Linked DNA regions of Homo sapiens: region 1 is linked to region 2. Evidence: promoter capture Hi-C in 16 types of primary human blood cells and fetal thymus (Javierre and others, 2016). All regions are on one chromosome and are shown on one strand. The core of a region is centred on a gene start or on the middle of the fragment in contact, and the rest is flanking DNA. Distances in the headings are between cores, read along the strand shown.

What was found. Contacts are between HindIII fragments. The CHiCAGO score rates a contact against its expected background, and 5 or more counts as called.
Region 1: a fragment that was not itself captured here is called in contact with the fragment with the promoter of PAPSS2 in region 2 in 2 of 17 cell types (megakaryocytes and endothelial precursors); the score reaches 5.1 in megakaryocytes.

What each region holds. Positions count from the first base shown.
Region 1 is chr10:87,754,812-87,760,254 of GRCh38, forward strand. It overlaps ATAD1 (ATPase family AAA domain containing 1), which reads right to left. Exons shown (of 10, transcript NM_001321967.2): 9 at 1,978-2,111. Among named protein-coding and RNA genes, the nearest start is that of ATAD1, 61 kb to the right of the region's middle. The HindIII fragment of the contact is 1,683 bases long and covers 2,567-4,249 here.
Region 2 is chr10:87,655,593-87,661,472 of GRCh38, forward strand. PAPSS2 (3'-phosphoadenosine 5'-phosphosulfate synthase 2) reads left to right here and starts at 4,286. Exons shown (of 13, transcript NM_001015880.2): 1 at 4,286-4,416. The coding sequence starts at 4,390. RefSeq lists a silencer at 4,034-4,273. The HindIII fragment of the contact is 6,673 bases long and covers 1-5,880 here.

The sequences.
Region 1 (5,443 bases), core at 2,158-4,657, 98 kb after region 2:
AATGCAAACAAAACCATCAAATACTCAAATAACTTTAGAATATGCCTCCCTAAAATATTTTACCAAGATTTAAAAGAGATGCATGTGGTAAAAAAAAAATTTTGTTTTCAACTGTAGAAAAGGGTATAAAAATGAAATCTCTTTACCATTCAAGACCCCAAAGACAACCACAATGAACAGCTTCATGTAAATGCTTCCAGGAATTATCTACACATAGAGAAATCATAAGGAATTTTTTAAAAGCACTGAGTGCTAAGAAGTAGGAAGCTAAAATAGCTACAAAGACTTCACATCTATAAGTACACAATATTACCATAAGGTAAAAAATGTTATATGGTTTATTGAAATGGGAATATAATTCCAATTTAAAAAATCACGTTATTCCCATGAAAACTGTAATTAAAAAGTAGCATTTCTAGGTATATACTTACATGCATGTTTTGCTTTTTACAAATTGAGAGTAAAATTCTTCACTATCAGTAAAAATCAACTAATCCAAATCCTCCCTACTTCAATGAGAAACAAAGTCCAGAATATTATGGCTCCCTTGTAATTTACAGATATTCAGGGAAAAACATTCAGGAAAAAGTTATAACCCAAGTCCATCCAGATTTTTCATACTGAAATATAAAATTATAAAATATGAAATTCAGGAAATATAAAACTAGCCAGACTTTTCATACTGAAATACAGTTTTCAGGGCTTTGAGGCAGCAAAAAAATAGATCTTTCATTATTAGTGTAATTTACCTAAGCAAAATTTACGAACTGGTTGGTTATTTCTCCTCTTAATCTTATATATAAGAATAAAAACCTGGCCAGTAGCGGTGGCTCACACCTGTAACCCTAGCACTTTGGGAGGCCAAGGCGGGTGGATCACCTGAGGTCAGGAGTTCGAGACCAGCCTGGCCAACATGTCGAAATCCCGTCTCTACTAAAAATACAAAAATTAGCCGGGCATGGTGATGGGCGCCTATAATCCCAGCTGAGACTGAGACAGGAGAATCGCTTGAACCTGGGGAGAGAGGTTGCAGTGAGCCGAGATCACACCACTTCACTCCAGCCTGGGCAAAAGAGCGAAACTCCGTCTCAAAAAAAAGAATAAAACCTTTGGAAGGTAGATTCTGAGGGTGCACTAACGATGATGAGACCAGAGCCACTGCATATACAGCTACCAGTTGACAGAGTAGCTTTCATGCAGACCTTTCTATATCAAAGCTCGCAAAACATTTTTTTGCTGAAGTTTGCTATGGCAACACACTGCAATTAAATATATGAATACCACAGGCAAGGAGTGAAATCCCTAGGAAGGTGAGGAAGGGAGACCAAGAGACAAAGGGACAAGAGTTGGAGAATTCCTTTAACACAACCCCTAAAAGTACACTGGAGTTCACCAAGAATCACAGAAATTGTTAGAAGGCTGATATTCTGAAAAGAAATGCAGTATAATACTGGTTCCAGGCAAGTGGCATTTTAGGAAACTTCCTTTAGGACATGGTTCACCAGGGCTGAACTATTCCAGTTCATTAGTATCTTTGCTGAAATAAGGCTGTTAAAAAAATTGGATTCTCAACTTCACTATACTTTGGAACTGGTTCCAAGTAAAATTGCTGCAGTGATAAATGGTTTCTTTGTTCAGTAAATACATTTTCGTTAACAAATTGAGGTCTAGTCTTCAATATCTCCAATTTACATGGGAAATTTCCCCTCACATTTACATGTGAAATTTCCACGGATCATCAGAAGAAATTCACCTTTTTTCTCCTTCATTCTAGACCCTTCCCACAATTCTGCCCTCCTTCATTTTCAGAATTCTGCTTTGGAAAAATGGCAATAAATAAAGTTGCAGGGGGTGATAATCCAAATTTACCTTTTATTTCATAAGCGGTGTTTCTAATATAAAGCAAAATAAAAGAAACTAACCTAAAAGCTCTAAAAGATTTTGACAAGTGTTAAAAATCAAGTCAAAATAACATACCTTTCTTCTGATGTAGAATTAACATATTCTCTAACACAGAGGAGGGCAGCATCTCGACACATCTCTTTTAGGTCACTTCCTGAAAACCCATCAGTTTCCTGGGCAACTTCTAGCAGGTCTACATGCCTATCCACCTTAAACAAATATAAAAACATGCTTAAAAAACAAAAATAAATATATTGTAAATGATACTACCAAACACCCATCTTAAAGAAAGTTAAGCATATTATAACTGCATGGGAGGAGAAACAATAGTTTCTAGAAGCTTTTTTTAACCACAAAAGCTTAGAAATTTGAAATATAATTTTCATTATTTGTCCTTATGATTAAGACAAATAATTATTACTAGATACACTGTAGAGTGATGGGGAAGAACGGATATTGGACTTTCTTTGATATCTCTCAAGAAGGTACCAAGGTGACATTTTTCTGTAATACATTCAACATACAGTACTTGGCAAATAACCTACATCAAGAGTCCATTACAAAAAAAAAAAAACAAAACACTCAACATTCCTTTTAATTGTAATGCTTGGTATTCTATTATCTCAACATGAATTTAGCACCTATACTTTTGCTCCTCAAGCTAAGCTTATAGTCAAGCCAATTAAGTGACTGTCCTAGCCACATAATAGACTTGAGATAGTCTAATCATACTAAACTTATGTACAGATTAAGAAGAGAAAATAAGCAAGAAAAAAATCTATAACTACCATCTAGTAAATGATTCTTATGTCTCATTCACTGGGGTAAGCACTTTGCATGTATTATTCTCATTTAATCTTCTCAGAAACTATCAATTTCATTTTCAGATAAGAATCATGAGACCTGGACAGGTAAACACGGTCAGAGCCAGGATTTGAACACAATATAGTGAGGTCCAGCTGTATTTTTCCCCTGTTCAGCTCATCACTTGTTACAGCAACATTTACTTTCCCCCACTGATGTGAAATGACACCTTATAGTTACTAAATTCCCATTTGTATTTGTATTATATTTACTAAATTCCCATTTGTATACGTGGAAGACACAGTGTTTTAGGAAGAACAGCAACTCTACACAAGGACAAGAGACTTGAAGGTGAGACAACACTGCCAGCTCTGCAACTGTGACCTCACATGACAGTGCTCTCATTCCTAAACATGAGGGTTACATGAAGATAAATCATGTTTTTTGATAAAAAGAAACTGAACCCAGAGGGCAGGAGTGCAAGCAGCAATGATAAGCAAAGCAAATGGTAAATACATGGATAAATCTAAATAAACTTTAGCTATATAAATAGTAGTAATAATAGTTATTATAGTAGTCATAATCATTTGGGGTACAAAAACAAAGTGGAGCTAAAATGCTGTACAATAAGGACATGTAAGACAGAGGAGACATCTACATTAAAGTACTCTAAAGTGTTACAATTAAAGCATTAAAAAGAGGGTACAGATATTATTAACTTAGACTTTATGTATGTATGTCAAAATACATAGGTACCACTAAAGGATAGAAAGGGTACACTAAAGGAAGAAAGAGAATGTGTAATTTCCAAACCAATAGAGGAAGGGAGAAAAACAGAATAAAGAATACAAGAGCAGTATTAACAAACTCAGGACTAGAGGGTTGGGACAAATAAGCAAAGAAAAAGCATAATAAATGGAAAGCATTAAAATAATAATGAATGAATCCAAATTTATGAGTAATTACCATAAATGCAAATAGACTAAACTTGGCTGGTAAAAGATTTTATACAAAAGAACCCAAAATGTAGCTATTTGAGGTTTATAATAGACAATACTTATGCTAAAGGGAAAAAAACAGTCTTTGTGTTACATTTGAAATAAAAACAAAGAAAAGCAGGAAGTAAAAGACTGAAAGACATCAACGATTAATAAAAAGAAAGCTAATGTAGTTCTAGTTACATCAGATTTTTACTCAAAATGCATAATTGAGAAGTCATTATATAATGATAAAAAAAAATTCACCAGAAAAATACAACAATTCTGCCCCTGTAGACATACATGTAACATGGCCTCAAAACATATACAGCAGAAATTTATATAATTACATATAAAAATGGGCAAATTCACAATACTGGAAGATTTTTAACTTATGTCTCATGTACTGCCACATCAGTGAGTTCTTAGGACCGGTGACAGCACCTGTGATCTCATGTACATACATGTATATAATTTAGATCTTAGTCCTTTGATGGTTATAGGGTTGCAAATATTTTCATTGTGGCTTGTTTTTTCACTTTGTTCATGTTACCCCGTGACACAGAAGCTTTAAGTCTGATTATAGTCAGACTTCTCTATTCTCTTTCCTTTGTAGTTTTTAATTTTTTGTGAATTGAGAAACTCTTCTCATGTGTCCTTAAGAAACAGACACATACAAGGATCTAATTTTTCTACTGTTTGTAAAAAGAATAAAAATAACATATACCTATACACATGCATTAGGTATCTGTTCACATATATTCACGGGATTGATAAACTCTATCAACTCCTGGACAGCAGGTTACCAATGACGGTGATAATGGGAAGTGGCCAGTGGTTGCTTAAGGCTGTACTTAATTAAAAAAAAAATGAAGCAAATGTGGAAATATATTAAAATTGCCTGTTAAATATGGGTGGAAGATAATGGGGCTATTTGTTTATATGTTTGAAATATTTCATACATTTAACAAACTACTTTAAAGAGCTTTCCAAACTATACTCTGAGATGTTAAAAATTAAACATCCAACACTTCCTCCTGTCTTTTGACCACTCCGTTGTTGGGCCACCCTATGTTCTAACCACTCACAAATCTTGTGCCTGATAAGATGATACAGTTAGAAAGATGAACCAACCAAGTATAAGAAAACAAAGAAAAGAAGATTCCAGTCACTGGGGGAGCAAGATTTAATTAAGAGGTACCATACCCTAATGGTTAAGAGTAGGCTCCATCACTTCTTTGTGTAATCCTGGGCAAGTTATTACAAAACTTCTCTGGGTTTCAGTTTCCTCAGCTGTAAAATAGGACTAATATGTACTCCTTAGATAAATGAGGATTAAATAAAACAATGTATAGCTCACCAAAATGCTTGGCACATAGCAAGCACTCTAAAAGTAGCTCATTTTGTTCTAAGATAATAGCTTTTAGATAAACCATGAAATAATGAGAACTCTTTTCATTAGGCAACTCTGAAGGCAATTCCCAAGTTAAAAAGCTTTTGAGTATAGGCAGCAACAGCAGAATAAGTTAACAGACTTCTAAAATAGCTTGAAAGAATGATACTTACTTATGCAGTTGTTTATTATTATATCCACCATTAATAGTATACTTGTAAATAACATCTATGTACTCTAAGCATTTTACACTTATAATTTTATTTCAAGACCAGCTGGGGCAAATGATGAGACCCTGATATGGTCTGGCTCTGTGTCCCCACCGAAGTCTCATGTTGAATTTAATTCCCAGTGTTAGGGGGAGGGA
Region 2 (5,880 bases), core at 3,036-5,535:
TCTTGAACTCCTGACCTCAAATGATCCACCCGCCTCAGCCTCCCAAAGTGCTGAGATTACAGGCCTGAGCCACCATGCCTGGCTCCTACCATTTTTTAAAGTCTCAGTTCATATATGATCTTTCCCCAAGAAAATCTGACATCAGTCCCCACTCTCCTCCCAAGGTTGAACTAGATGTCCCTCCTTTGTGCACTCACAATCTCCTTTAATTTACTGACCAGTTTAATCCATATTCTGGGTTTCTTTGAGAGAAAACAATGACTGATGCCCACAGTGAACTCAATGTTCTTCAACAGGAGGATGCACTGAAATGCCCAGACACTTCTTCACCTAAGCTGCGTGTTTGCTGGGATCCATTGTTTGTTCTCAAACCTATTTCTGCCAGTCGTACTTGTTAGTTTAATTAAGTAATTTAACTAGATGTCACTTGAGTGAATAGCACATGAGTGAAAGAGTTGTGTTTTCTATGAAAACAGATGGATGCTTTGGAAAGATAAGATGCTAGAAATCGTACTTTTGAATGAGCCATAGGCAAAACTACAGACAGGATAGGGGAGGGGTATGTAGTAATCTTGAAAGAATCTCCTTTCAGATTTTTTTAAGTGCCCTTAATTTCTAACTTCACTTTATAAAATTCCAACCTGGAAATTGTTGAAGATGCCTAATGAAAGTAGTTTATGAAGTTCCTATCAGTAGACTCATGTCACAATTAGAAGCCTTTGGCCCCATATCAAAAGATTAGTGACGTGTATGTGTTAAGTCAAAATAAAATGTCTAAGGCATGCACGTATCATCTTTACCTGTTCAACCAATTATGTATTGAAGTGATGGGGAACCAGTGGGCGGCAGGAAGGGAGTCGGGTATCTTTCTCTTTCAATAGATTGTGAGTTTCTTGAAGACAGGGACCACATCTTGCTCATCTAAGTAGTACCTGTGCCTGAGAAAAGTGTTCAGATCCTCAAAGATTTTCACTAAGTGCTCTTCACCCAGTGGAATGCTGCACTTATTTTTGTTTAGGGGGTTTCAGGTCTTGTTCAGCATTTATGCATTACAACCACGAGGGGGCAATATAGTCACATTCCTTGTAATGACCACCCAGTGGTGTTGCCTCCACGTTAGAGCCCCTAATATGATGAGCCCCCCTAAAATGCATTGGAGAAACTGTGGCATAAACATCTCACCAACACTGGCATTCTTTGTATATCCTTCTCCTGTTTATTTGGAGGAGTTGACTGATTCTATCTTTTCTAAACAATATAAGGATCAACTAGCAATCACCATTTTATTAAGTTATGCAAGTGCAGACAGCTTCTGGAAGGAAGAAATGAAAATGAGATGGTGGAGAAGGGGTGGTACAGGGGAAACCTTCATGTAAATGTTATCAGTAGTATCAGGGATGATCAATTGGCACAATGTTATCTATGGTGTTTTTCAGGGAAGTCTTGGAGGGAACACTACTGAAGAAGTTACAGATTCTGTGTCTATATGAAGCAGAAGACCTCAATCCTTCCTCTGTCCCCTGAATGAGTCTTCTCCCAGTTCCTATATGTCCGAATCATAGGCTCCGAAAATTAAGTTTCTCGTTGCTCATATCTTTTCAGAAGGAATGTCCTCTCCTAAGAGCAAGAGGGTAGTGAGATGAAAAAGAAATCTATTGCCTTTAAAAGGAAAGACCCTGAGAAAATAAAAAAAGAGTGTTTTGCTTTTTAGTAAACTGCTGTGCTGAATCACGACTAAATTGGTGATCTGTGACATCAAAGGGTCATAAACAGCCTAGCTTGAGTCCAAAAGAACTGAGGCCTCCATTTTCACAGTAAAAGAATGCCTATTCCAAAATAATTTTTGAGAATGAATGAAATCTAAAACAAGATAAGCAGTCCTGTTTACAGTTATCATGGGGTATTGAAATAGTTGGCGTGGAAGTTGGGTGACTCAGTGGGCAGGACATTTGGGGTCAGAGCACTTGGGAAGTCAGGCTGACCTGCGTTAAAGCCTCAGCTCTGCTCCTAACTAGTGACTACGGTCAGATGCCCTCCCTTCCCTAAGCGCCAGTTTTACATTGCTCATATGTAAAATACAGGAATGGGGAAATTGGACAAATGATCTCACAACCTCTCCCAGATCTAAACAATCATATATTTCTTTTCCAGGAAGTAGCTTACGTATTTGTCCTTAACTTCCTGTTTCAAGAAGACAGCTTTTTGTTTTTAGATGCAATATAAAAACAAAATAACAATCACGCAAATTGCTATTTTTCTTTTTTTTTTTTTGAGATGGAGTTTCACTCTTGTTACTCAGGCTGGAGTGCAATGGCGCAATCTCGGCTCACTGCAATCTCTGCCTCCCGGGTTCAAGCGATTCTCCTGCCTCAGCCTCCCAAGTAGCCGGGATTACAGGCATATGCCATCACATCTGGCTAATTTTGTATTTTTATTAGAGACAGGGTTTCATCATGTTGGTCAGTCTAGTCTCGAACTCCTGATACCAGGTGATCTGACTGCCTCGGCCTCCCAAAGTGCTGGGATTACAGGCATGAGCCACCGTGCCAGGCCGCAAATTGCTATTTTTCAATTCACATTTACTTTACCTTTTCTTAGGGCAAGATCTGGCAGAGTCTAAGATATGGTGGAAACTAATATAAAAGGATTTTTCCAATGAAATAAGAATAGGATGTTGCTATTTAAACTTCATATACATTTAAAATGTGCTAGTTTGTATGCAGAACAGAAACTCAAACTCAGTATTTGCCCCTAGCTGCTTACATTGGAAGGCAGTGGTGGCAGTTTACTCAAAATGAGTAAGAAAATAAATCAGCTTACAACTCTAGACTGTACAGACATGCAGGCTGCCTTTTACGTTTCTGACTCCTGATTTATTTTTCTTTCCCACCTTCCCACGGCGAAGGGCAGTCAATGAATACTCAGATCAAGTGTCTGTCTGGAAAGCTGGCAGTCTTCCAGAAATACAATTAGGTATGAAAGAAAAGTCCCATCCCTCACCTCCATAGAATATTACTCCAACTCTTTCACAGCAGGAACACTAGAGTGGGAATGAGAAGTGTGGCCCTTGTGTGTTACGTTACTTCTTTTGAGAGTATGGTCATATCCATCCGTTTGTAGCATTACACAAGGAGTCAGTTAAGGTACAAGGGGTGTGAGACCCAGTGACTGCCCCCAAAGTGCTTGTCACTAGAGCTTCTCTCCCTCACCTCTACTTGGCCTTGACATTTGGGTTCGTTCAGAGGGTTGCCCCATACTGCCTTTGGGTTCGTTCAGAGGGTTGCCCCATACTGCCTTCTGGTAAAATCTTGGCGCCCTAGGCCTAAGCCTGCTCATCTTGTGCCTCCTTTTCCTCCTCCTCAGGGCCCATTCCAGTGGAACAGAAGTGCTACTTTGGGGGTGGACTGAAACAAGTTGCTGGGCTTCCATTGGCCATTGCCACTTGCTTGTCGTTGTGAGGAGGGGCCGTGCCTCCACAGGCCCATACCTGTAACCTGACGATACTGTTGTGAGCGGGAATGGAGGAAGTGCATGGAAGCCCCTCAGCACGATGCATAGTGAACAGACAAGCTGTGAACCTTGGGAGTTATCACCATGTGTGATGATGCTGGTGAAGAAAGCCTGCACTGAGGAGGCTGTCAGCCTGGGTTTGAATCCCCTCATTTGGAATATAATCTTGGCAAAGTCTGAAAGCCTCAATTGCTCGTTTGTAAAACTGGAAGATAGTAGGACTTGCTGCCCGGGGTCGGGGCAGGATGGAGGGGGCCCATGAGAATTAAGGCAGAGCCCAGCGGAGTGCATTGTAAGGATCCATGAGTGTGAACCTTCGTTTTTACTACTGCATATGAGGATCCTGCCAACAAACCTGGCGGCTTCAAGCATCCTTGCCCTTAACCAAATAAGCTCTTAGGTCCTAGAGGCAGGAAGACTTCCTTGAAGAGGCGCGGGAGGCTGGTGAGGGGAGTGGAGGACGCTCTGGGACCCTCTGGGGGTGGGGCGGGCGGGGTGAACTTGACCCCAGGCCGCGTGCCGGGCGTGCCATCTGCCGCTCCGCTGCAAGGTCTCGCCCGGGACCGGGGCTGGCGGAGCGCGCGCCCGCGAGTAGGGGCCGGGCCGGGGACCCCGCCTAGGCGGCGGCGGCCGGGTCCCCAAGGCTGGGCGCTGCTTGCGGAACCGACGGGGCGGAGAGGAGCGTGGCGGGAGGAGGAGTAGGAGAAGGGGGCTGGTCAAGGGAAGTGCGACGTGTCTGCGGAGCCTTTTTATACCTCCTTCCCGGGAGTCCGGCAGCCGCTGCTGCTGCTGCTGCTGCTGCTGCCGCCGCCGCCGCCGCCGTCCCTGCGTCCTTCGGTCTCTGCTCCCGGGACCCGGGCTCCGCCGCAGCCAGCCAGCATGTCGGGGATCAAGAAGCAAAAGACGGTAGGCTTCCAGGCGCCGGCTTCCCTCCCCGCCACCGCACTGCACGCGCCGACCCCCAACCCCCAATTCCCCGGCACTTGGGTCCCACCCTCCCCGGGAGGGGGCGTCGGGAGGAGGAGTAAGAGTGGGGCACGGAGGGAAGCAAGAGAAAGAGGCTCTGTGTGGAATTCCCGGGGCAGTCCTCGCCCCGCAGCCCCTCTCCACCCCGCGACTCTGGGAATCTGCGCTCCTTGGGGTCGCCGCGCCCGCGAGAGACCTCCCGAGCTTCTCAAGTGGGTCCGGATCTAGATCCAGGACCAGGGACAGGAAATCCCCTTTCTTTCCCAAGAGCTCTTCCAGACCCGCCTTTTCTTCTGTAGGGTCTCGGAGCAGATCGAGCTGACTCCCGTTCTGCCAGGTCTGGTCGCTGGGGTTTTGTCTATGGGAACTTCCTTGGAGTGGGCTTTAATGACGGACTTTCATAGAGGAAACTGCAATTATCAAAGCAAACTGGAGGAAATTGCATTTCTACACTGGCGGGATTTAGCCCTCTAGCTTGATTTCGGCATTGGGTGGCATCTCGAGTTCAGTAATGAGGGGTGAGGGTGCCCCTCGGTTTGGTGGAGTAAGATGAGGGGACTGTGTTGAGGAGGCACACTTTTACCCAGAATTAATAATCTGAGCTGTCCTCCTTTAATGGGAAATATGAGGGCGTGTCAAAGAGAAAAGTTTCTTTCCCAGCAACATGGGCACCTATAAATTTTGCATTCTTAAAAATGGCAGCAGTTCTATTTGTCAATTATACCCCAATAAACTGAAAAAAAAAAAAAAAAAAAAAAAAAAAAAACCGGGAGCAGTAATCATAGACTCTTAGAGTTGGATGGCGCCTTCTAGACAGCACTGGGGCCACGTCAGATGTGGTCAGCAAGCCTTGATAAAATCCTACTCAGCAGTTTGGCCGCTGAACATTCTATCTTCAGCCACCACCCTGCAAGCCTCAGATGATTGTACTGGTTACTGAATGGGTTGACCTCTCTCTAGTAGATAGACGTGCAATGGACACATAGTAGGTGCCTGATAAATGTTTATTCTTATATAATGTGTATTACCGAAATATCTTTGAGGTGTATTTGTGGTGGGCCGGGGAGAGGTTTAAAAAAAAAAACAAAATATAAAGCCAAGAAGTGGGGAAGGAGTGTGGAGGGGCCATGCAGGGCTAGAAGGGTCATTTGAGCAGCAAGAGAACAGGGTGGGGGCTCTGTGGCTCCAGGGACCATACTGGACCAGCAGGAGGGTCCAGGGTGTAGGTGGCATCAATTTGGGAAGGGACATTTATCAAAATCCAGCTGCCTTTCTCAGGAGTAATTTTTAAGTGGGGGACTCTCAGCGTTGTAACATATTTTTGAAATAATAAATGAAAATCACTTGTATTTTGTTCCTATTTAATGCGATTAATTTCTGTAAAATCCTAAATAGTGTCTTCTA